Linked DNA regions of Homo sapiens: regions 1, 2 and 4 are each linked to region 3. Evidence: promoter capture Hi-C in 16 types of primary human blood cells and fetal thymus (Javierre and others, 2016). All regions are on one chromosome and are shown on one strand. The core of a region is centred on a gene start or on the middle of the fragment in contact, and the rest is flanking DNA. Distances in the headings are between cores, read along the strand shown. Region 1 holds the start of PYDC2-AS1 (PYDC2 antisense RNA 1). Region 2 overlaps CCDC50 (coiled-coil domain containing 50). Region 3 holds the start of OSTN-AS1 (OSTN antisense RNA 1). Region 4 has its middle 19 kb from the start of PYDC2-AS1.

Region 1 (5,968 bases), core at 1,481-3,980, 190 kb after region 3:
CTGATTGTCTCCTCTTGCCTATTTTAGTCTGTCTTTGTCCCTGCTGAAATCTCACCTCCAGGCATGGTCTGAATGCTACAAAACTGAGTTCAAGCTATTGCTTCCTAAATTTGAACACCGTTCATGCAGTCACAGCCCACATCGATCTTTTATTAAGCTTTCAGTCTATTTTCTCATACACCGTTTTTATGAACATCACCAGAAGTACAGGTGAGTTTTACAATAAAGGGCAGAGCTTGCTCTTTTTCCAGCATTCATTTTGTTAGGTTCGCTTATTGTCTGTGTTTGATGAATTTTTTTTTTTTTTTTTGGATACTGACTTTGGCAAATCGAATTTATGTGCAGATTTGATGAAGACTGGATAAGTTTTCAGTTACTGGTAGCTGCTTCATTTAGAGTCCTGGAAAAATGTCTTCTCAGTCAAAGCCCCTGAGCTTTGCCTCTTCCTGGCACATATGGGAAGATGGGAAGAAGGAGGGCTACATGCAGTCTCTGGCAACATGCCTCTTTGTTATTAGAGATGAGATAAAAACACAGGGCTTGCAAACTCTAGTGCTTGTTACACTGGTCCATGACAGCATTTTCACATCAGAATCAAAAGTATTATTTGTTTTGGGGAAGGATTATTTTTGATTTTCAAATTATGCCCTTTATTCTACTTTGAATTTAAGTTTTTTTTAGTTTATAGGACAAATGTGATAGCGAGAATTTTAGAAACTTGTTTACTTGGGAAAATAACATTTGTCAATCTGTTGATCCACCAAAAAAAAAAAAAATCACGAAAACCTCAATTTTTGGAGATCGCTGGTCTCTAACTTATTAAGATGCATTAAATAAGTTGAGTAAACTATACATGTTTTACTTCTTCTGAATACTAATTTCTACTTAAGAAATAGTCGAGGCTACAAAAAGAAGCAATGGGGAAAGGATTCCCTATTCAATAAATGGTGCTGGGATAACTGGCTAGCCATATGCAGAAGATTGAAACTGGATCTCTTCTTTATGCCACATACAAAAATTAACTCAAGATGTTTTAAAGACTTAAATATAAAACAGCAAACTATAAAAACCGTGGAAGACAGCCTAGGTAATACCATTCAGGACATAGGAACAGGCAAAGATTTCATGACAAAGATGCCAAAAGCAATTGCAACAAAAGCAAAAATTGACAAATAGAATTAAAGAACTTCTGCACAGCAAAGGAAAATATAAACTATAAACAGAGTGAGCAGACAACCTACAGAATGGGAGAAAATTTTTGCAAACTATGCATTCAATAAAGGTCTCATATCCACCATCTCTAAGGAACTGACATTTACAAGGAAAAAATAACTACCCCATTAAAAAGCAGGCAAAGGACATGAACAGACACTTTTCAAAAGAAGACATACATACGGCTAACAATCATCTGAAAAAAAGCTCAAAATCACTGAACATTAGAGAAATACAAATCAAAACCACAATAAGATACCATCTCACACTAGCCAGAATGATGACTGTGAAAAAGTCAAAAAGGAACAGATGCTGGTGAGGCTGCAGAGAAAAAGGAATGCTTATACACTGTTGGGGGGAATATAAATTAGTTGAACCCTTGTAGAAGACAGTGTGGCAATTCCTAAAAGACCTAAAAACAGAAATGCCATTTGACCCAAGAATCCCATTGCTCAGTATATACCCAAAGGAATATAGAATTTGTTCTATTCTAAAGACACATGCACACATATGTTCATTGCAGCACTATTTACAATAGCAAAGAAATGGAATCAGCTTAAATGCCCATCAGTGATAGACTGGATAAAGAAAATGTGGTACATACACACCATGGAATACTACGCAGTCATAAAAAAGAATGAGATCATATCATTTACAGGAATATGGATGGAGCTGGAGGCCATTATCCTTAGCAAACTAACGCAGGAACAGAAAACCAAATATTGCATGTGTGAGCTAAATGATGAGAACATATGGGCAAACACAGGGGAAAAACATACACTGAGCCTTTCAGAGGGTAGAGGGTGGGAGGAGGGACTGGATCAGAACAAATAACTAATGGGTACTAGGCTTAATACCTGAGTAATGAAATAATCTGTTCAACAAACTCCCATGACACAAATTTATCTACGTAACAAACCTGCACATGTTCCCCTGAACTTAACATGAAAGTTAACAAAAAAAAAAGAAATAGTCGATAAATTAGAACTCACTGTGTGTTTGGACTGAATAGCATTACCAAGACAGTAGTTGCAATGCTCACAACTCCTCTGCGAGGTAGGGAAGGCTGCACGTCTCACTGTACAGAGAAGGAAGCTATTGAGTGGCAGGGCCAATGTGGCATAGTGGGCTTGGTTTCCAACGAGCACGTGTGATTGCCTCTGGAGCTTTTAGATCAAGTTATTTAAATATAGCTAGCATAGTCATGAAATAGAAGGGTACATTAAATAGAAAGTGGGGTAGTAGGTAAAGCTTCTGTGTAGCCTTGCAGAAGTCAGATCAATTCTCTTGGCCTTAGTTTACTCAACTATTAGACTCTGTTTAGTGAAGCCCATTTCCAGCTATGAAAATCAAGTTTTTTGCCATGTCGATAGAATGCAATAGGAAAGAACAAAGGAATAACAAGTATGTAAAATTAAAAAAAGAAATGCGGTTAAGGGCTCTCTCTCTTTCTCTCTTGTAGGTGTGGGTGTGTGTTGGCGGGTGTCCCCTAATGGAAATATGAGGTAACTGTAGGGACAAATTATAGGAAATAGAAAATACATGGCAGAAAATACATGTCCGTATATTGATACAGACAATGAAATTGGTTGCTTTTTGTTTATGGTATTGGTGGGAAAATGACCCCCTCATTAATCAGATGGGACCAGGTGGCATGAAGAAACCCTGGGTTATCTTGGTAAATGCCTAATCTTTCCTCTCTTCCTCTATCCTGTTCTACTCTATTTTGATGGACATGTTCAGCACTTTTTGATCTATAGCAATTAAAAGAGAGCTTTTGCTGATGGAAGCTTGTCAGGCCTTTGAATCTGACACCAGGACCAGAGGGAGAGCTGCATCTGCCGTGGGAGTCTGGGCTGTCAGGTGATGACAGGGGCTTGCCCTTCCAAGGGGAGATCGCCTTTGGCAGGAGTAAGTGCTTTCACCCAGAGGCAGCCCTGCTAGTGAGATGAGAGCAGTGTGCACTGAGTTAGCAAAGTCAAAGGAGCGAGCTGGCAAATAGAATCACATCACATCTGCCAGAGAAAGTGATCAAAAGCAACAGGACCCAGGCAGCTGGCAAAAGGTGACCCCTGGATACTGGGCTGCTTCAAAAACACAGCTGATCCCAAAGATTGTGACAAGTGAATGAATGTGCTCACTATAAGTCTCTGCCAAGTTAAATAATACAGCTCTCTCTCCTTCCTTCCCTCTCTTTTTCTCTTTCTTCACTTTTTAAAAATCCATTCTATCTAGTTTACTACTGATATGGTTTGGCTGTGTCTCCACTCAAATAGCATTTTGAATTGTAACTCCCACAATTCCCACATGTTGCCGGAGGAACCTGGTGGGAGGTGATTGAATCATCGGGCGGGTCCCGTGCTGTTCTCGTGATAGTGAATAAGTCTCACGAGATCTGATGGTTTTAAAAATGGGAGCTTCCCTGCAGACGCTTTCTTCTCGTCTGTCGCCATGTGAGATGTACCTTTCACTTTCCTCCATGATTGTGAGGCCTCCTTAGCCACATGGAACTGTAAGTCCAATAAACCTGTTTCTTTTGTAAACTGCCCAGTCTCGGGTATGTCTTTATCAGCAGTGTGAAAACAGACTAATACAACGACTTACAGATTATGAAGAAATAATGTTTTGTACAAGGTGTATACTTTTGGATTTTGGGTGTTCTGATTAGACCCCATTGATTTCTTGGGAACACTGCCCCTACTAATCTGAATGCTTCTGCAAGCAATAGACTATACTTAATTGTCTTTTGTCTCCCATCGGTTGAGAGCCACATGTTTAAATGAAATGAAAAACTGTTTCATTTCAAATTCAAAAACAGTGTATTTTGCTAAAAGCCATGCCTAAGGAAGAAAAGTAGGTTATTTATTTCTGTATATAGAAGGAATATTTTAATCTCCTGATTTATGGTTCCTCGGCCACAGTCTTTGTTTGTTCTTTCATTTAGCCTTCAACTTTATGAAGAGAAGAGGTCATTTTCTCTTGAAATTTAGTTTTCCATTTTCTTTATAATCAGATGGTAACTATTTCAGATGCACTCTCAGCAGGAAAACATTGAACATTTTTAAATAAATACATTTACTGCAACTAAACCAGCCATAGCATGTCTGCTCATTAAGGTTTGAATTTTGTTAAATGTTTGCTAAAAACATATCTTTATGTCCTAGAAAACCAATTCACTATTCCATTGCAGATATATACATCGAGGAAACTGAGGCCCCAAATGATCATAGGATCTGCCTCATGTCACCCAGTTTATTAATGGCAGAGATAGTTCTTGAACTATTTATCCTTGACTCCCACCCTTGTACTCTTTCCAGCCTGCTTGTGCCACCTCCCTCTCCAAGTAAAAATCTATTATCCAGTGAGACTCAATCAATGATTGCTACATTCTTGTTATTCAGAGTGTGGTCTGGGAACTAGCATCATGGACAAACCCTGGCAGCATGTTAAAATGCCGAATCTTAGACTCCACCCCAGACCCATGGAATCAAAATCTGCATTTTTAACTCAATTCCCAGAAGATGTGCAGATTGAATTGTATGATAAACCTAAGAACCTAAGTTCTCAGGTGAAAGTTTTTAATTGAATAATATATTTCATTAGGTTTTATAGGATTGTAAAACATCTTATGCATATTTTTATTTTAACTGTTAAGGCTGTTAATTATTCTTTAATTTAGCTTGTTAAATGACAGAAGTTTAGCACCATCCATTTATTTAAGTGCAAAAGTAAGAGTGATCTCTAACCTTAGGCTGGCTATTAGAGAAAGTAAGACCTTTGGGGGCTGACATTCAAGGCCTTTCGTAGTTTGGCGTATAATAGGGGGCTGTGATGGTGTAAACAGATTGCTAAATGTGAAATGGACAGTTGTTAAACTGGACTATCCCTTTTCACTGAGAAATACACAATGCATTACAAACTCAATCTTAAAACATTCTTTGCAAACATAAGTTGAAGGCAGGACATTTTCTTGTCCTCTTCCTTATAAGTGAATAGCAGTGGTAGGAGATGGTCTGCCATCACAAACTTAAACCATTTAATTCCTGCTTTGGAATGGAGGAGCACAGGCTTTGCCTTTGCACACTTCATTTTCATTCATCTCTTATTTTCCCCTCCTCTCCATCTGTATGGTCTGTGCCTTGTCCTCTTGTGTCTCACTGTTCCAGAAATGTATTAAACAGTCTTGTTCTTCCAAATCATTTTCTGTGATGCCAACAGAAATGCCTTTAAAAAACAAAACAAAACAAAATCTGATAATCTGAGCTTAAAACTTCCAATGTCTTCTATTCTTATAAGATTAAGTAGAAACTTCTTAATAGACCTACATCTTAATGTCCACTATGATTTGGCTCTGACCCAATTTACTAATGCAATGTGTTATCCTTGCTTGTGCTCTGGATAAGAAAAAGAACATTCCTGGTCTATAAAAGGCATTATAGAAAAAATGGGAGAAATTTGAATTTATTCTGTAACTTTGATCTGTGTATCACAAGAAGTATTGCATCAATGTCAAGTAATTTTACTAATTTTATTAATTGTAATGTTTATGTAAAAGAACATCCTTCATTTTAGAAAATTACACTCAAGTGTTTAGAGCGTAATTCTGTTTGCAGCTTTCTCTTTAGAAAGTATTATACGTATATATATGTATTTATGTACACATGTATACATAGTCTGTGGAGAGAAGGAGTCATATGAGAGGGAAAGAGAGAAAGTATGCATGGGAATGCTGAACACATGCAGTAACATGTTAACA
Region 2 (6,504 bases), core at 1,796-4,295, 160 kb after region 3:
CTGTTATGATTGTGTTAAGTGCTATGGATGAAAAGTACAGGATGATAAGAACATAGGGAGACATCCTGGTTTAAGTGTCTAGGAGGGTTTCTTAAAGAAGTGAATTTTGAAGTGAATTATGAAAGGTGTTTGGCTGTATCACTAAATTAAAGATGTAAATGATTTCATGAGAACGGTAGGAAACAGGCAGTCTTAATACAATAAAACTGTACAACAAAGTTAGTTAATAAGATTTTTCTAACTTGGATATATATGCTGTAACTTTAAAACAATTGTCTCAGGTATAACAAAATAATTTGGTGTAGGACTCTTGGCAGCAGTAAGCCAAGATTTGTTCTCTATGTAACCTGAAACTAAACAGAACAGTACCCTTAAGAGCACTGAAGTACTCTTAAGAGCATTCTAGATTGCTCTTAAGAAGTACTCTTAAGAAGTACTTAAGAAGTACTCTTAAGAGCATTCTAGAACAGTACCCTTAAGAGCATTCTAGATTGATTTGTTTATCCTTACATGGACATGCTAGAAAACTTGTGGGCATCCTGTGCTTTGTTTCATAACTTTAGCATACTTTTCCTTGATGAGTTGATGGTGAGGCACTAATCATGGATTGTTTTTGTGAGTTCCACTCAACGTCTGTCTTTCTGATTTTTGACTGCCTAATGACATTAATAAAAGAGAGAAGAACAGACTGGGTCATTCTAACTACTAACCCTGTTTTCTTGGGCCTGAGTCACTTCTTAAGCCACTTGTTTGCTTTTTGAAGCTAAGTTCTTTAATCCTAGAGTCAGACTGATTTGTCTTAATTTTTCTACCAAGTCTTACATTGTTTATTAAAGATAAGTGTTAAAAATATCAGGTATTGGAGAAAAATACTATTTAATTTCCAATATTGGTAAACAAATGATTTAAAAATAAAAATTAGAAAAAATGCATTATTCACTATGTTTCCATTACTTTTATATATATATATATAAAACAGATGCATGAAATGATATTTGAAAGTATAAGTACAATAACATATGAAAGTATACTTCTGAAAATATACAAATGCATATATATAAACACACATATATACATATAGTCTTTTATACAGATGATGCTGCTCCTGATAAAAATACACACCTATGTAGTAGAGTAGTTAAGAACACTGGTTTTGAAATCCAGTTGAGTTTGAGCCCTGGGTCTGCCACTTAACAGCTGTGTGAAAATGGACAGATTATTTACCTCATCTAACCTAATCTGACTCAAATATGTATATGATAGTTAGCATTAGCATACAGACTTGTCCTGAAAGTTAATTGAGATAATCTGTGTAGAACCTGTAGCATGGTCCTCAGCACATATGCCAGTTTATATCCCATGCTGACCTCTTCGGGATGCTGAATACCCAGGGAAAGATTTATTGCATGGCGACAAGATAAAAAATTTGGAAACACTTGCTTTTATTTTTACATGACAGAGCCCATTGTACCAAACCAACTATAACTTTACAAACTTCAGAATACTTATGCCTTCTAGATTTTACATATAAATGTACAAAATGGCCTACAGTATGGTTATATTTGATAAATCTTTGATATATTGATAAATTTGATAATCTGGTGCTATCCTTTAGTGCAAACTTTGAGTATACCTTTGGGAGATAAAGAATGAGAGGTTTTCTGCTTCAGTGCTACATGTTTGCATAAATCTATGTTAAGTAATTTTAATAAAAAGTTTAGAGTAGTAAAAATTATATCTTTTTTTTTTTTTTTACATTTTTTGACATAAAAAGTTGCGAATGTATTACATAGAATTTGCAAATGTATTAAGATCTGTTTTGCCACCTAGTGGATAAAGGAACTTTGCTCATGAAATTTTGTTTCTGTTTCCTCCCTCCTTTCTGTCTCTTACCCTTCCTTTTTTCTTTTTTTCCTTTCCTTTCTTCCTTGGCTTTATTATTTTCTTCTTTTCTGTTCTTTATTCTGTTATTTTTTCTTTGACTTGGTAAGACCTACCAAAACAAAGTTTATTTCTTATAAATGGCAGCAGTCACATCTCACTAATCTTTGTTTATTTAGCCCAGTTCCTAACATGTATTAGTTGTTGAGGAGATAATTGTTTGTATTGAATTATGACATCAAAACAAAGGAACGGGAAGATAAATAATTTATTCAAGGCCATGCAACTGTCCAGGAACTACAGTGTGAATTCTGAAGCATTTTGGCTTTTCATTTCACAAGAAAATGTTTTTAGCTTGCAATCCAGTAAGAGGGGTGGAGTTGTAGTAAGCGTTACTTAGAATGCCCCTTTAAATTCTGGATTCCTTTTAGGCCACCACCACCTATCATGACAGATGGTGAAGATGCGGATTACACTCATTTTACAAACCAGCAGAGTTCCACACGGCATTTCTCAAAATCAGAGTCCTCTCATAAAGGTAAGAAGAGTATGTATGGTCAAGTTTAGGATCTTCTTTTTTTATATAAGCCTCGTGTTGTAGTGGAAAAATCAAATTCTGTGTTCCACTAGAGTGGAAAAATAAGTTATTCTGTCAGCACATTGTTATAGAACTCCTCATTTATTAAAACAGTAACAAAACAGAAAACAGAACACCCTAAATTTTATGTAAGATATTCTGTGTATTTGCATTTTCCTCGAGAGGGAGCACAACGCTTTCATCAAATTCACTTTTTTTTTTTTTTTTTTTTTTTTTGAGTCGGAGTCTCACTGTGTTGCCCAGGCTGGAATGCAGTGGCATGATCTTGGCTCTCTACAGCCTCCACCACCTGGGTTCAAGTGATCCTTCCATCTCAGCCTCCCAAGTAGCTGGGATTACAGACATGTGCCACCACACTTGGCTAATTTCTGTATTTTTTTTGTAGAGATGAGGTTTTACCATGTCACCCCAGGCTGGACTCAAGTAATCCCTCTGCCTCTGCCTCCCAAAGTGCTGGGATTATAGGCATGAGCCACCGCACCCAGCTCTTTCATCAGATTCTTAAAAGGTGGTGGTGACCTCCATTTAGATCTGTAGGACTGCATTTTCTGTAGTGGCTCTTGTTTCCTATCTGCCCATGACTCTTATTAATTAGATTTAAAATATGCATGCACACCTCCCACATAACTGTTATGCAAAAGAAAAATGGAACAAAGCATAAAGAAAAAATAGGGATACCTCAATTGGACGAAACCTTTAAAATTTGTTTCCAGAAAAGGGTCCCGATTCAGACTCCAAGAAGAAGGTTCGAATAAAGAATGGCTGCTCAGCAGTGTGGGCTGCTGGTTGCCCATTTTTATGGTTATTTGATTATATGCTGATTAATACAAGGGGTATATTATTCATGAGTTTTCTGGGAAAGGGGTGGGCAAATCCTGGAACTGAGGGTTCCTCCCCTTTATAGACCTTATAGGGTAACTTCTGATGTTCCCATGGCATCTGTAACCTGTCATGGCTCTGGTGGGAGTGTCTTTTAGCATGCTAATGCATTATAGTTAGCATATAATGAGCAGTGAGGACAACCAGAGTTCAGATTTGTCACCCTCTTGGTTTTGGCCAGGTTCTTTACCAAAGCCTGTTTTATCAGCAAGGTCTTCATGACCTGTGTGTTGTGCCAACCCCTTATCTCATCCAGTGACCTAGAATGCCTAACCTCCTGGGAATGGAGTCCAGTAGGTCTCAGGCTTATTTTATCCAGCCCCTATTAAAGATGGAGTCTCTCTGGTTCAAACGCCTCTGACAGAGGAACGTATTTGCTCTTGCAAGGATCTGCGTTCACTTATGTACATTTTTATGAGAGCTGTAAAATGAAATGGTGAAAAGGTAGTTTCTCATATTAACTTCCTCATCTGCAAAATGGAGGCAGTCTAAATAGAAAGTGTCAGAGTTGTCAGGATCATAAAAGATTAAATATGTGAAAGAATTTTGCACAGTGCAGTAGACTTTGCAAATATATTATATCTCATTAATTGATGCTGTTTATTTGTTATGATTTTTGAAGACTTAGGTGATATTGTTATTCATTTCCAAGTCAATAATAATGTCCCCAAATATCTTTAAATAACATTTTCTGCTGTCATTTAAAAATACCATCGCAAAAATGACACTCTAGACTACTTCAATCAGAATCTCTGGATGGGGGTTGTCAAGCATTTGCATTTTTAAGAAGCTCCCCCACCCCCACATTCTGACTCACATCCAATACTGAGAAAAAGACAAAAGGCATTATTTTAAAAGTAAGGTTAGTTGGACATTATAAACATCTTCATCAACACATCCCACCTCAACTTCCATCAGTTGGTGGCATTTTCACTGTTCCCGATTTAACGAAGTAGCTCATATTTTTCTTTCTCAAACTACATGTATCACCTTTTGGGGAGTACCTTACTGTCTTTGACATACATTTGATGCATAATACTAAACTAACACATTGATTCTGTATATATGTCACAATCAAGAATAAAGTACTATTAGAAATGTATAGAAATAAAGTTATTTTACTTGGGCAGGGAGAAAAAGCTGTTTGAGTTTCAAAGGTTTTTCCTTAATTGTGTTTCCTTTTTTCTTCCCCTCCCCAGGTTTTCATTACAAACATTAAAAACCTAGGAATCTGCCTTGAAAATGGACTCACTATAGCAAATATTACTGGGTGATACAGAATGAATTCTACACTTACTTTTTTTCTCCTGTGTTTGCATTCCTGGGATTTATCCTCAAGTGCATTTCTGACCATAAGTAATTTTAATTCATTTCAAATGTTTTGGTTATTCATGATCACTTGGGCAGTATAAGAAAATGTAGCTTCTGAATATTGGCCACCTCTATGCTGCATATACTTCTTGGGATATAGTATCTAAGACCTTTGTAAACTGCCATTTTGTTAGGTATGGAGTTTGGTATCTAGGGAGTAGGCCTTATTTAGCAATTCAAATTTTATGGAGATGAATGATCAAAGTGAAACAATGTTTGGATGCAACGCAGAATAAAAGAATATAAGAAATAGCTTTTTGTTGCATTAATGTATGATATTTTGAAGGACAGAGCCTTTGCTTTTTGTATTCTTTAAGAAAAGCACAACCATAAAGTATTTTAAAAAAAGAAACACTTGGAGCAATTGAAATATGTTATTCTGACTAGATGGACTGTAGAGGTTTTGCATTTCTCAGCCCTCCTGGGGAGATTGGCCTAGATAGCATTCTTTAACACTTCCTCTGCTTTTGCCTCAGTAGCAAGGCTTTCCTAAGCTCCTGGGCAATGGAACATTTATTAGTATTTATTGACAAAAATTTAGTTCTCTGAAATTTTAACTCATATATATGAAAAACTTTGTATTCCATCTCTTCTTTTTCATTTACTTGTAGAGCCAAGGAAATGGAATTGAAAGATGATTGCATAAGTAATGATGCCATCCTTCTCTCTGGCTGTAGACTGAGGCTTTTCTCTTGCTTCAAGTCAGAGCAGTATTTGTTGATAACCTCTCAATAATGTTTGGTTTACATGCCAGTAATTAAATTAATTCAACATGAAGTTGAATTTGATGAAGTGGTCATCTATCCAAGTATTTGGTTTTTGTTTTGTTTTGTTTTGTTTTTTGAGTTGGAGTCTCGCCCTGTCACACAGGCTGGAGTGCAGTGGTGCAATCTTGGCTCACTGCAACCTCCGCCACCTGGGCTGGAGCAATTCCCCTGCCTCAGCCTCCCAAGTAGCTGGAATTACAGGCATGTGTCACCACACCCGGCTAATTTTTGTATTTTTAGTAAAGAGCGGGTTTCACCATGTTGGCCAGGCTGGTCTCGAACCCCTGACCTCAAGTGATCCACCTGCCTTGGCCTCCCAAGGTGCTGGGATTACAGGCTTAAGCCACCATGTCCAGCCAGCCAAGTATTTGGTTTTAAACATTTGTATTCCTTTGTGCAAGGGATTGTATTCCTCTGTACAAGACCTTTAAGCACCTCTTCAAGAAATTTAGTCTTTGTGTAGCTGCTAACCTTACTGCAATATTTATTTTCCCTTATTTTCCCATACTACTTAGTTGACAAATGGCAATCAAGCTCACTTGTTCTCCCTCTCTCTGTCTCCCCCCCATGTACACATATATATATCCCTTCAGCTTGACTTGCTATTATTTTTCATTGTATAAATATGAAATTCTTGGCATTTCAATATGGCATTTGTTTAGGGAAAAAATATGTAGGTCACTAGAGAAAAATGTTAATTTTTTTCCCACTGTGAATTGCCTTCTGTTTGCCTTATCTTTTCAGATAGTCTTTAAAGTTGGGCAATATTCAGGCAGCTATTTAGAACAGTTTCTCAGAGTGGATTTGGGTCTCTCATTTGAGAAAGATTTGTAGTTTCAATGAAGTTTGTATATTATAGGAATTTAAGTAAAATCATCTGAGTTAAGTTTTGGGCAAATGTTAATCAGAAAGATAATCTACATCCCTACTTTATGTAGTCATTTTGGAGAAATGGAGGAAAAGGAAAATAACAGGACTTTTTATAGCTGTGATAAAATGGGTAAAGAA
Region 3 (5,979 bases), core at 2,090-4,589:
TGAGGTGTAATGATACTTCAAACATAATACAGTGTTAAAATTTTCTGTCATCTGTTACCAAGGCTTCAGCGTCATTAAAAAAATCACACATATATATATATATCACATATATATAAACCACAAGACTAAAATGTGACGTATTTAGTAACAAGAATGTATAGCTTGCAATTTTGCAAACTTTTCATAAAAATAAAATTTTATAAAAATTATAATAATTTTGCTTAGGAGAGCTGTACTGAGGGTTATTTACTGCTATTTTTTCAAATTCTATGAGACAAGAATTTTACTGCTTCCTTATGTGTTGTTAGATCTTTCACAAGACCAGGAATTATTTGTTAGTGTTATACGCATGAGTGTGCACAAAAACTTCATGAGTTTCTTATAAATGTCTGCGATTTTCATGTATATGCCCTCATGTTTTTCCCCTTATCAGGCACACATTCTCTATCTTCCCATACTTACTAAGAGAAGGTAATACATCTGAGATCCATTTTCCATACTCTGTGCTTAAAGATCACATACATCACTTAATTCAGGGATTCATAAACTTTGTGTCATATGTCACTATGGCAATTTGGGGAAACCTATGAACCCCTTCTCAGAGTATTGTTTTTAGAGTGATAGAATTTATGAGTTCAAAGGTTAGCCACTGTTTAGAAACAGAATTATCAAAAACAATTTTTTAATTAATTTGCAATAAAACATATACATAAAATATTTTAAATATTATATTTATTAATACCTAAAATAAGATGTAAAGATATGTCTGCAAACAATAGCTGTGGCTGGGTGCGGTGGCTCATGCCTGTAATTCCAGCACTTGGGGAGGCCGAGGCAGGCAGAGCACCTGAGGTTAGGAGTTCGTGACCAGCCTGGCCAACGTGGTGAAATCCCGTCTCTACTGAAAATACAAAAATCAGCCAGGCGTGGTGGCACTCAACTGTAATCCCAGCTACTCGGGAGGCTGAGGCATGAGAATCGCTTGAACACGTGGGAGGCGGAGGTTTCAGTGAGCCAAGATTGTGCCACAGCACTCCAGCCTGGGTGACAGAGGGAGACTCTGTCTAAAAAAAAAAAAAAAAAAAAAAAAAAAAAATTGTTGTAACTAGTGCAGAACATAACCATTTCAAAGCATCTGTGATAATTAAAATGTGCTTTGAAAGTATTTGTGATTTATATGAGTAACAATGTTCAGACACAACTATTACTATTATTTTTTTCTATATTCATAAAGTAAATGCTATATATATATATATAAAATTATGTTTATTTTTATTTTTATTTTTTGAGATGGAGTCTCACTCTGTTGCCTAGGCTGAAGGGCAGTGACTAAATCATTTTTTTTTTTTTTTGAGACGCAGTTTTGCTCTTGTTGCCCAGGCTGGAGTGCAATGGTGAGATCTCGGCTCACTGCTCCCTCCACCTCCCAGTTTCAAGTGATTCTCCTGCCTCAGCCTCCCAAGTAGCTGGGATTATAGGCATGGGATTATAGGTGCCTGCCACCACACCTGGCTAATTTTTGTATTTTTAGTAGGGACTGTGTTTCTCCATGTTGGCCAGCCTGGTCTCGAGCTCCTGGCCTCAAGTGATCTGCCCACCTCTGCCTTTCAGAGTGCTGGGATTACTGGTGTGAGCCACTGCGTTCGGTCATAAATGCTATCTTTCATTTACAGGTTAATGGAACTAAAGATGTAACCCTTTCCCATCTACACGTATAGGCCCCTGAATTATATTGCTCCATAATCCCAGATTTTAAAACTCTGAGTCACCAGGGTACAAAACATATTATTTAATTCTATATTACTATAAAATATCAGAAAAGAAAAAGGAAATTAACTCTACTTTCAAAAAGGTCCACCAGGAGATGGAAACAAAAAAATTCATGAAAGCTAGGGAAAACAAAAATGAAAAGAAACAAATATAAAAAGCTAAACAGGGAAAACCCTATATCAGGTCATATTAACTTGAAATAAAGAACCACCTGTTGTTTCCTATTTTGTATTGCTTAACACATTTTTACCTGAATAGGACACTAGCTTCATTTTCTGATTCATGTGCAAATTACTTCAATTCTCCGGGCAACACTAACTCAACTATACTTTGAAGCCCAAAATATTTTTCTCATTTCCATTCACTTGTTTAAAGTCTGAAGTTACCATTTTATTTCTGTTTTCTTTTTTTCGTTTTTTGAGACAGAGTCTTGCTCTGTCACCCAAGCTGGAGTGCAGTGGCAAAATCTCAGCTCACTGCAACCTCCACATCCCGGGTTCTAGCGATTCTCCTGCCTCAGCCTACCAAGTAGCTGGGACTCCTGATCTCAAGTGATCTGCCTGCCTCAACCTTCCAAAGTGCTAGGATTACAGGCATGAGCTACCACGCCCTGACTTTTTTCTGGAAGAATAGTATCTACTATCTGACTGACTCTTTAACATTAGAAGATATTGACGGCCAGGCACTGTGGCTCATGCCCTTAATCCCAGCACTTTGGGAGGCCGAGGCAGGCAGATCATCTGAGGTTGGGAGTTTGAGACCAGCATGACCAACATGGTGAAACACCATCTCTACTAAAAATACAAAATTTGCTGGGTGTGGCGGCGCATGCCTGTGATCCTAGCTACTTGGGGGCTGAGGCAGGAGAATCACTTGAGCCCAGGAGGCGGAGGTTGCAGTTAGCTGAGATCACACCATTACACTCCAGCATGGGTCACAAGAGCGAAACTCCATCTCAAAAAAAAAAAAATTGATGATTGGCCTAGAATTTTTCTAAATAATGGTTTCTCTCACTCCTTCACACAACACTAAAAATGTCTTGCAAATAATAACAATAATAGTGCTCTATATTTGAATTCAATTACTATTAAATATTTGTACAACTCTTATTGCTTTAATTCTCCCATTTAATATTTTAGGTCAGTAAAGCAAGAAATGCTATTGGGTTAGGGTTCCAACAAGAAATAGGTGTCACCTTTGAAATAGGAAAATTTGAGGAGGGTTTTTTCAAAGGAAGACTATTTACAAAACTCTGGGTACAGGTAGATTATAATGGATGGCACAGCAGCCCACGGTGGCCTGAAAAGACAAGAAAGGAAGAGGTTTCCAAAAGTCAGAGAGTCACAGAGTTTCAGATGCCTTGAGAAAAGTAGTGACTTGGCCGGGTGCAGTGGCTCATGCCTGTAATCTCAGCACTTTGGGAGGCCGAGGCAGGTGGATCGCCTGAGGGTAGGAGTTTGTCACCAGCCTGGCCAGCAAAGCGAAACCCCGTCTCTACTAAAAATATAAAAATTAGCTGGGTGTGGTGGCACGCGCCTGTAATCCCAGCTCCTTGGGAAGCTGAGGCAGGAGAATCGCTTGAACCCGGGAGGCAGAGGTTGCAGTGAGCCAAGATCACGCCATTGCACTCCAGCCTGGGCAACAGAACGGGACACCATCTGAAAAAAAAAAAAAAAAAAGCAAAGCACAAAAAGAAAAGAAAAGTAGTGACTTTTCTTCAGGAGCATACTCCCGGGAAGAGGTCTTGCAAGGAGTGGCCAGGAGAAAATTATCCTGACCTCTCTCCTCCTCTTCCTCTATTCTGTCTTCCCCAAATTATCTATTGCTTGATCCACACCAAAGCCAGAGGGCACAGGAACATTTATATGTTCCAAAAAGATCAGCCTCCTAGGACTGAAAGTAGGGTGAGAAAAGGCAGCATACATCTGAGAGCAGAGGGAAGATAGCCAGCAAAATTATACACATTCTGTAGATTTAGGTCAAGAAACACTTTGCTCCAGAATATTGTTATTATACCACCTAATTGAAAGAGAAAAACTCCATAAGTCATAATCAGAAAAAACAGCTTTTCCTCCCATCCCCATGCATTCCAACCCACTCAGTGGTAGTTGTTGTTCCCTACCCCTTGAGTAAACCCAAAGGCAGGTATTAATGGCTCTACTGGCCACATCAAAATAATAAGAATCCCTATGGTTACTTGTACTAGAAAAATAACCATATAACAGTAATTCAAATAACCATTCTTATATGTGACCCCAAACCATGAATACTAATAAAGCTTCTCTTTTCCCTAGCTTGGACCCCATTCATCCTGGAAGGCTTCAGTGGGAAGGAGCTTGTGGCCAGTTTATATTCACAATCTCCCCTATCACAGTAGGCTGCCTTTTGTCTCCTCCAGAACTGGGGATGGAGATGCATGCAGAGAAGTAAAACAAAGTCTTACTTGACATAATATCATGACCTGTCTTTGTGCCCTCATGGCTTTGGTGAATGCTCAAAGCTGACTCATCTTGGAATGTTTCTGGGGGTCACATAACCCCCAGTGCGAATAGTAACATAGGCGTCCTTACCTCCAATAATACTCCTCTTCTGGCAGATCTGCTATGCCCCTCATCCTCACCCTACTCTCTCATCTTCTGCATTTGACACCACCATCAGCATCCTGATGAGTTTGCTTCCCCCATCAGCCCTGACAGAAAGCCCTTGGGGCAAGGTCCCTTTTATAATTGACCCAGGCTGACTCTCTCCACATGCTCTACATCTGCCCACAGAAAACCCACATCCTTGACTCTCATTACTGAAAGTGAAGCAGTTCTTGGTGCAGTCATCTCTTCAGTCTGGTATCAAGCCAATTCTCACAGCTTCTTGCCCTTTAGATTTCATAGACACTATTTTATTAGGTTCACCATGCTTCAATGGACATATTTTAAACTCGAAGTGTTTTTCTCAAAGCCCTTTCCCCATATGAAGGAGGAAGGAAAATGCCATTGTTTTTCAATAACTTGCTCCCAAGAAATTCTCCCTTCCTGAGCTATTCAATATGAATCCTTTTATTGGATTGAAGTTGGAAAAAACTAAGTTTGTAGCAACCTCCTTTGGAAGTACTACATAAGTCTAGCACCTCACTTTGGAATGCAAAACGAAATACTTCCCACATACTTTCTCTCTTTCTGTCTCTTTTTTACTCAGCCTTTTAAAGCCACAGCCAAAAACTGAGATAGAAAGCATCCCATTTTAATATTCTGGTACATTCTTTTTTAAAAATCTCTATCACACACTAAGAAGGAGGTATTGTTACCAGAAAGGGGTCCCGAACCAGACCCCAAGAGAGGGTTCTTGGATGTCACACAAGAAAGAATTTAAGGCAAGTCCACAGAGTAAAGTGAAAGCAATTTTATTACAGAAATGAAGAAACAAAAAAATGCCTACTCCATAGAGAGTAGGGCCCAAAAGCAAGAGGAGGAATGCGTCCATTTTAGGTATAATGCTTGTTTATATATAAGATAATAACGCAAAAAAAAAAACAATCCTTGGGGAGATGTGCGCTACTACAAGGGCTTGGGACAAAGGATTGTTAATCTTTGTATAACTACTGTCTTCCACAATAATTTATATTATTATCTTTAAAGTGAAACTTACTCTTAAACTAAGAATACTTTTGTTCTTAAGATATCGTGACATCAGGATATTTTCTGGACCTGCTAAGTCCTGGATCTCTTCCATAAACATTATTAACTTGTTTTCTTAACTGTAAACATCCTCTGACTAAAATGCCTGACCTTCTGGGAATGCAGTCCAGCAAGTCTTAGCCTCTTTTTACCCAGCCCCTATTCAAGATGGAGTCACTCTGGTTCAAATGCCTCTGACATTAGGATCCACATTTTATTATGTTTTCGGAGAGATAAAATGATTTCCCTGAGATTATGTTGATATAAATTACATGCCAGATTGTTTAACTCCAAGGCCGTGACTTTCCACTTAATTTCTTTGCAGAAAGTAGCTTTCTACAAAGCTGCTAGAGCAAGCAGGAGGGGAAAAATGGCAGGGAGGGCAGGCAGTGAGGCAGATGCTGACATTCTTGTGAGGCTCTGATTAGCCTAAGTAAATCTAGGTTTTACATGTGAAATGAGGATGTAGAGGCAAAAGTCAATTATGCGTTGCCTCAAGCGACTTTCTACAAAGAAATTAAAGTTCTGTGTGAATAAGATA
Region 4 (6,255 bases), core at 1,711-4,210, 170 kb after region 3:
GGTCATATGGTAACTCTCTGTTTAACTTTTGGAAGAACCACTAAACTGTTTTCTATAATGAGTGCACCATTTTACATTCCTATCAGCAGTTTCTCCACATCCTCATCAACACTTGTTCTCTTCTCTTTTTTTCCCTAATAGTCATCGTAATTGTGTGTGAAATAGGGCTCTAACTTCATTATTTTGTATCTGGAAACCTACTGTATGTCTCAGCACTATGTGTTGAAGAAATTTTCTTTTTCTCATTGAATCAACTTGGCACCTTTGAGGAAAACCAATTGGCCATAAGTTTGTGGGTTTATTTCTGGACTTCAGTTCTGTTCCACTGGTCTATATGTTTAGCCTTATGCCACTACTACACTATTTTGATTACTGGAGCTTTGTAGTAAGTTTTGAAATTGGGGATTGTGAATCTTCCAGTGTTTTTTTCAGGATTATTTTGGCTGTCAGGGGCCCCATTGCAATTCCAAATGAATTTTAAGATTAGCCTTTTCATTTCTACAAAAATACTGTAGCAATTTTGATAAGGATTGCATTGAACCCACAGGTCTTTTGGGTAACATTGCCATCTTAACCATATTGGGTTTTACAATCCATGATCATGGAATGTCCATTTATGCTATTTTAATTTTTTTCAATTATGTTTTGTAATTTATTGTGTATTGTCTTTCACACCTGTGGTTAAATTTATTCCTTATTATTCCTTGGAATATTAGAAGCTATTGTAAATGGAATTGCTTTCTTAATTTCCTTTTTTGTTTGTTCATTACTAGTGTATAGAAACAATTGATTTTTATTTATTGATCTTATAACCTGCAGCTTTGCTAAATTCACTTATTAACTCCAGTATCTATCTTGTGGATTCGTTGGGATTTTCAATATATAGGATTATATCATAGGCAAACAGAGGTAGTTTTACTTCTTCCTTTCAAATTGAGATGCTTTGTATTAGTCTGTTTTGCATTACTAGGAAGAATTACCTCAGGCTGGGTAATTTCTAACAAATAGAGGTTTATTTGGCTCATGGCTCTGCAGGCTGTACAATAAGCATAATACCAGTATCTGCTTCTGGTGAGGACATCAGGAGGCTTACAGTTATCGTGGAAGGCAAAGGGATAGGAGGTGTGTCATGGCAAGAGAGGGAGCAAGAAAGAGGGAGGAGGTCTCAGACTCTTCTTAACAACCAGATCTCGTATGAAATCATTACAGTGGGGAGAATACCAAGCCACTTATGAGGGGCCTGCTCCCATGACCCAAACACCTCCCACTAGGTTCCACCTCCAACATTAGAGATCACATTTCAACATGAGATTTGGAGTTGAAATCTAAATATTTAAACTATATAATTCTGCCCCTGGGTCCCCAACTCTCATGTCCTCCTCACATTGCAAAATGTAATCATTCCTTCGCAATAGTCCCTAAAAGTCTTAACTCATTCTGGTATCAACTTGAAGGTCAAAAGTCTCATCTGAGACTCAAGGCAAGTTCCTTCCACTTATGAGTCTGTAATATCAAAGCAAGTTATTTACTTCTAAGATGCAATGGTGATACAGGCATTGAGTAAGCATTCTCATTCTGAAAGAGACATTGGCCAAAAGAAAGGGGCAACAGACTTGGCAAGCAAGTCCAAAACCCAGCAGGGAAGACATTAAACCTAAAAGCTCCAAAATAATTCTTGACTTCATGGCTCACATCCGGGGAACACTGGTTCAAGGGGTGGGTCCCCAAGGCTTTAGACAGCTCTACCCCTGTGGATTTGCTGGTGCAGCCTATGTGGCTGCTGTCATGAGTTGGAGTCCATTGTCTGCAGCTTTTCAAGTTAAAGGTGCACACTGCTGCTGACTCTACCATTCTGGGGTCTGGAGGGCAGTGGACCCCTTCCCACAGCTCCACGAGGCAATGCCCAAGTGAGGACTGTGTGTGGAGCCTCCAACTCCACATTTTCCCTTGGCAGTGTCCTAGTAGAGGTTTCCTATGAACCCTCTGCCCCTATAGCAGGCTTCTGCCTGGGCACCTAGGCTTTCTGATACATCCTCTGAGATCTAGGTGGAAGCTGCCAAACCTCCTCCACTCTTGGATTCTGCACACCTGCAGACTTAACACAATGTGGATTCTTCCAAGACTTATAGCTTGTGCCTTCCAGAATGGCACCTTGAGTTGTACCTGGGTCCCTTTGAGCTTTGGCTGTATCTAGAACAACCAGAATGCAGGGAACATCTCTCCAAAGTGGCAAAGAGCAGCAGGACCCTGGGCCTGGCCCCTGAAACTATTCTTTGCTCCTAGGCCTCTGGGCCTGTGATGCGAAGGGCCACCTCAGATATTTCTGTAATGCCTTGAGACCTTTTTTAAAATCGTCTTGGCTATTAGGACATGACTCCCATTTATTCATGCTAATATCTCTAGCAATGGTTGCTTGCTCAAATTCCTCACCTGGAAATGCTCTTTCCTTCTCTACCACATGGCCAGGGTATAGATTACCCAAATTGTTATGCTCTACTTCCCTTTTAATGATAAGTTCCAACTGTAAGTTCTTTCTGTGCTCCCATATCTGATCACTGGCCATGAGAAGCTAGCACACCAAATCTTGCATGCTTTGCTGCTTAGAAATTCTTCCACCAGATACCCTAAGTCATCACTCAAGTTCAGTCTTCTGCAAAGTCATAGGGCATTGGCAAATGCAGCGATGTTCATTGCTAGGGCATTACAAGAGCAATCTTTGCTCCAGTTCCCAGTAAGTTCCTCATTTCCATCTGAGACTTCATCAGTCCAGCATTCACTCTCCATATTTCTATTAGCATTTTGGTTACAATCATTTAAACAGACTCTAAGAAGTTCCAAACTTTCTTTGTCTTCCTGTCATCTTCTGAGCCCTCCAAACTATTCCAACCTGTGCCTACTACCCAGCTTTAAAGCTGCTTCCACATTTGCAGGCGTTGTTATCACAATGCCCCACTCCTTGGTACCAATTTTCTGATTAGTCAATTTTGTATTTCTATAAGGCAATAGTTGAGGCTGGGTAATTTATAAAGAAAAGAGGTTTATTTGGATCATGGTTCTGTAGACTGTACAAGAAATATGTCACCAGCATCTGCTTCTGGTGAAGGCCTCAGGAAGCTCCCAATCATGGTGGAAAGTGAAGGAAAAGCAGACATGTCATATGACAAGAGAGGGAGCAAGAAAGAGGGAGAAGTTCCCAGACTCTTTTTAACAACCATATCTCATGTGAATATATTACTATGGGGAGAGCACCAAGCCTTTCATGAGGGATCTGCCTCTGTGACACAAACACCTCCCACCAGCCCCACCTCCAACACTGGAGATAATGCTTCAACATGAGATTTGGAGGATACAAATATCCAAACTATGTCAGCCTTTTATATCTTTTTTACGTCTACTTTTTCTGCCTAGAATTTACAGTACAATATTGAGTAACAGCAGTGAAAGTGGGCATGAGAGGGCAATGCTTACCTCTTAGAATGAGTTAGGAATTGCTGCCTCCTATTCTATTTTTTGGAGGAGTTTGGGAAGGATTATTTTCCATTCTTATTTATTTATTTAGAGAGTTGACCAGCAAATCCATGTGGTCCTATGCTTTTTAAATTTTTTAAATTTTTTTTTTTTGAGATGGAATCTCGCTCTGTCACTTATGCTGGAGTGCAGTGGCACTATCTCAGCTCACTGCAACCTTTGCCTCCCGGGTTCAAGCGATTCTCCTGCCTCAGCCTCCCGAGCAGCTGGGACGACAGGCGCGTGCCACCATGCCCGGCTAATTTTTTGTATTTTTAGTAGAGATGGGGTTTCACTGTGTTAGCCAGGATAGTCTCGATCTCCTGACCTCGTGATCCACCTGCCTTGGCCTCCCAAAGTGTTGAGATTACAGGCATGAGCCATCGCGCCCATACTGGGAGTGTTTTAATTACTGATTCAATTTCTTACTACAGGTCTGTTGGGATTATTCATTTCTTCTTGAGTTGGTTTAGGCAATTTGTGTTTCTAGGAATTGGTTCTTTTCATCTAGGTTATCTAACTTATGGGTATACAATTGTTCATATTATTATAATCTTTTTTATTTTTGTAAATTTGGGATAATCCTTTTTATTTTTGTAAGATTGATAGTAATGTTTCTACTCTTATTTCTAATTTTAGTTATTTGCTGCTTTGCTTTTTGTCAGTCTTAACTAAAGGCTTATAATTTCATTTATCTTTTCAAATAAACAACTTTTGGTTTTGTTGATTTTGTTGTTTTTCTATTCTCTATTTCATTTATCTCTACTCTGATCTTCATTCTTTCCCCCTTCCTGCTAGTTTTTTCCTGTTTCCTCAAAGTATAAAGTTAGATTAATGGTTGGAGATTTTTCTCTTTATATGGGTATATGCAGTTATAAGGTTCCTTCTGAGTATTGCCTGTGCTTCATCCTCTAAATTTTGGTATTGTGTGTATGTGTGTGTGTGTGTGTGTGTTTATCTTTATTACTTTCTAAGTATTTCCTAGTTTACCTTTTGATTTTTTTTCTTTATCTCATTGGTTTTAGAGGGATGTGTTAATTTTCACACATTTGTAGTTTTTCCATATTCATTACATTGACTTCCAATTTCATTAAATTGTGATCAAAGAAGATACTTTGATTTTGACTTTATTAAATTTATTAAGAGTTACTTTTTGGCCCAACATAGTCTATTCTGGACAATGTTCCATATGCACTTGAGAAGAATGTGTGTTCTGCTGTTGATGGGTGGAGTGTTCTATATATGTTTGTTAGGTTTAATGGGTTTATAGTGTTATTCAAATCCTCTACTACTTTATTGGCCAACTGTTTAGATGTTCTCATTAATAAAAGTGGTGTATTGGAGCCTTCAACTATTATTGTAAAATTATTTTTCCCTTCAATTCTGTCAGTGTTTGCTTTATATATTTTGAAGCTATGTTTGGTGCATATATATTTATAATTTTTGTAGTTTCTTGATGAATTTACTTTTTTATCAATATAGAATGTCTTTATTTTTTGTAATTTTTTTTAGACATAAAGTCAGTTTTGCCTGGTACTAGTATAGCTACCCCAGGTCTCTTTTGGTTACCATTAGCATGGAATATTCTTTTCCTTCCTTTCACTTTAACCTATTTGTGTCTTTAGATTTAAAGTGGGTCTCTTGTAGACAGAATATAATTGAATAATTTTTTAAAAATCCATTCTGCCAACCACTGCCTTTTCATTAATGAATTTTAATCCATTGACAATTGAAGTAACTTTTGTTAAAGAAGGACTTCTGCTTGTTTGATATCTGTCTTCCAAATGGATAAATCCTTTTTTCTGTTCCTCATTTTCTCTATTATTATTTTCTTTTGTGTTTAGTTGATATTTTTAAATGAATTGTTTTGCTTCCTTTTTCAGTTTCTTTTATTTTTTTAAATATTGTCTTGGTGACTACAATGGGGATTACATTTATCATAATAAATTTGTAACAGTCTAGTTTGAATTGACATCAACTTCAATAGCATACAAAAACTTTGTTCCCTTTACACTTGGACACAGGGTGGGGAACTTCACACACCAGGGCCTATCGTGGGGTGTGGGGAGGGGGAGGGATAGCATTAGGAGAAATACCTAATGTAAATGACGAGTTAATGGGTGCAGAACACCAACATGGCACATGTGTACATACGTAACAAACCTGCACATTGTGCACATGTACCCTAGAACTTAAAGTATAATAATAAAAAAACTTTGTTCTCTTTATGTTGCTGTTGTGACATATTATATCTTTATACATTTTATGCCCAATAGCATAGATCTATAATTATTTTTATGCTTTTGTTTTTTAAATAATGTACAGCAGGGATCCTCAACCCTTGGTACTGGTCCATGGCCCATTTGGAATTGGGCCACACAGCAAGAGGTGAGTGGTAGGCGAGTGAGCATTACCTCCTGAGCTTCACCTCCTGTCAGATCAGTGGTGGCATTAGATTCTTATGAGCATGAACCCTATTGCGAACTGGGCATGCGAGGGATCTAGGTTGTATGCTCTTTATGAGAATCTAATGCCTGATGATCTGGGGTGGAGCAGTTTCACCTAAAATCATCCCCATCCCTGGTCCATGGAAAAATTGCCTTCCACAAAACCAGTCCCTGATGCCAAAAAGGTTTGGGAATGCTGCTGTAGGACACAAAAAGTAGAGTTATAAATTAAGAATACCATAGTGCTGGATTTTACATTCACTCATGTAGTTACATTTATCAGAGCCCTTTGTCTCTTCAC

The links. Contacts are between HindIII fragments. The CHiCAGO score rates a contact against its expected background, and 5 or more counts as called.
Region 1: a fragment that was not itself captured here is called in contact with the fragment with the promoter of OSTN-AS1 in region 3 in 2 of 17 cell types (total B cells and naive B cells); the score reaches 8.3 in total B cells.
Region 2: a contact is called between a fragment that was not itself captured here and the fragment with the promoter of OSTN-AS1 in region 3, in 2 of 17 cell types (total B cells and naive B cells). The highest score is 12.2, in total B cells.
Region 4: a contact is called between a fragment that was not itself captured here and the fragment with the promoter of OSTN-AS1 in region 3, in 2 of 17 cell types (naive B cells and total B cells). The highest score is 6.5, in naive B cells.

What each region holds. Positions count from the first base shown.
Region 1 is chr3:191,421,881-191,427,848 of GRCh38, forward strand. It overlaps PYDC2-AS1 (PYDC2 antisense RNA 1), which reads left to right and starts at 3,644. Exons shown (of 7, transcript NR_120606.1): 1 at 3,644-3,724. The HindIII fragment of the contact is 539 bases long and covers 2,462-3,000 here.
Region 2 is chr3:191,387,184-191,393,687 of GRCh38, forward strand. CCDC50 (coiled-coil domain containing 50) reads left to right here. Exons shown (of 12, transcript NM_178335.3): 11 at 2,313-2,419; 12 at 4,558-6,504. The coding sequence ends at 4,577. Among named protein-coding and RNA genes, the nearest start is that of PYDC2-AS1, 35 kb to the right of the region's middle. The HindIII fragment of the contact is 7,087 bases long and covers 1-6,504 here.
Region 3 is chr3:191,231,266-191,237,244 of GRCh38, forward strand. OSTN-AS1 (OSTN antisense RNA 1) reads right to left here and starts at 3,340. Exons shown (of 6, transcript NR_133663.1): 1 at 3,307-3,340. The region is part of intron 3 of OSTN (osteocrin); the gene reads left to right. The HindIII fragment of the contact is 7,111 bases long and covers 1-4,046 here.
Region 4 is chr3:191,403,512-191,409,766 of GRCh38, forward strand. No RefSeq gene overlaps it. Among named protein-coding and RNA genes, the nearest start is that of PYDC2-AS1, 19 kb to the right of the region's middle. The HindIII fragment of the contact is 9,329 bases long and covers 1-6,255 here.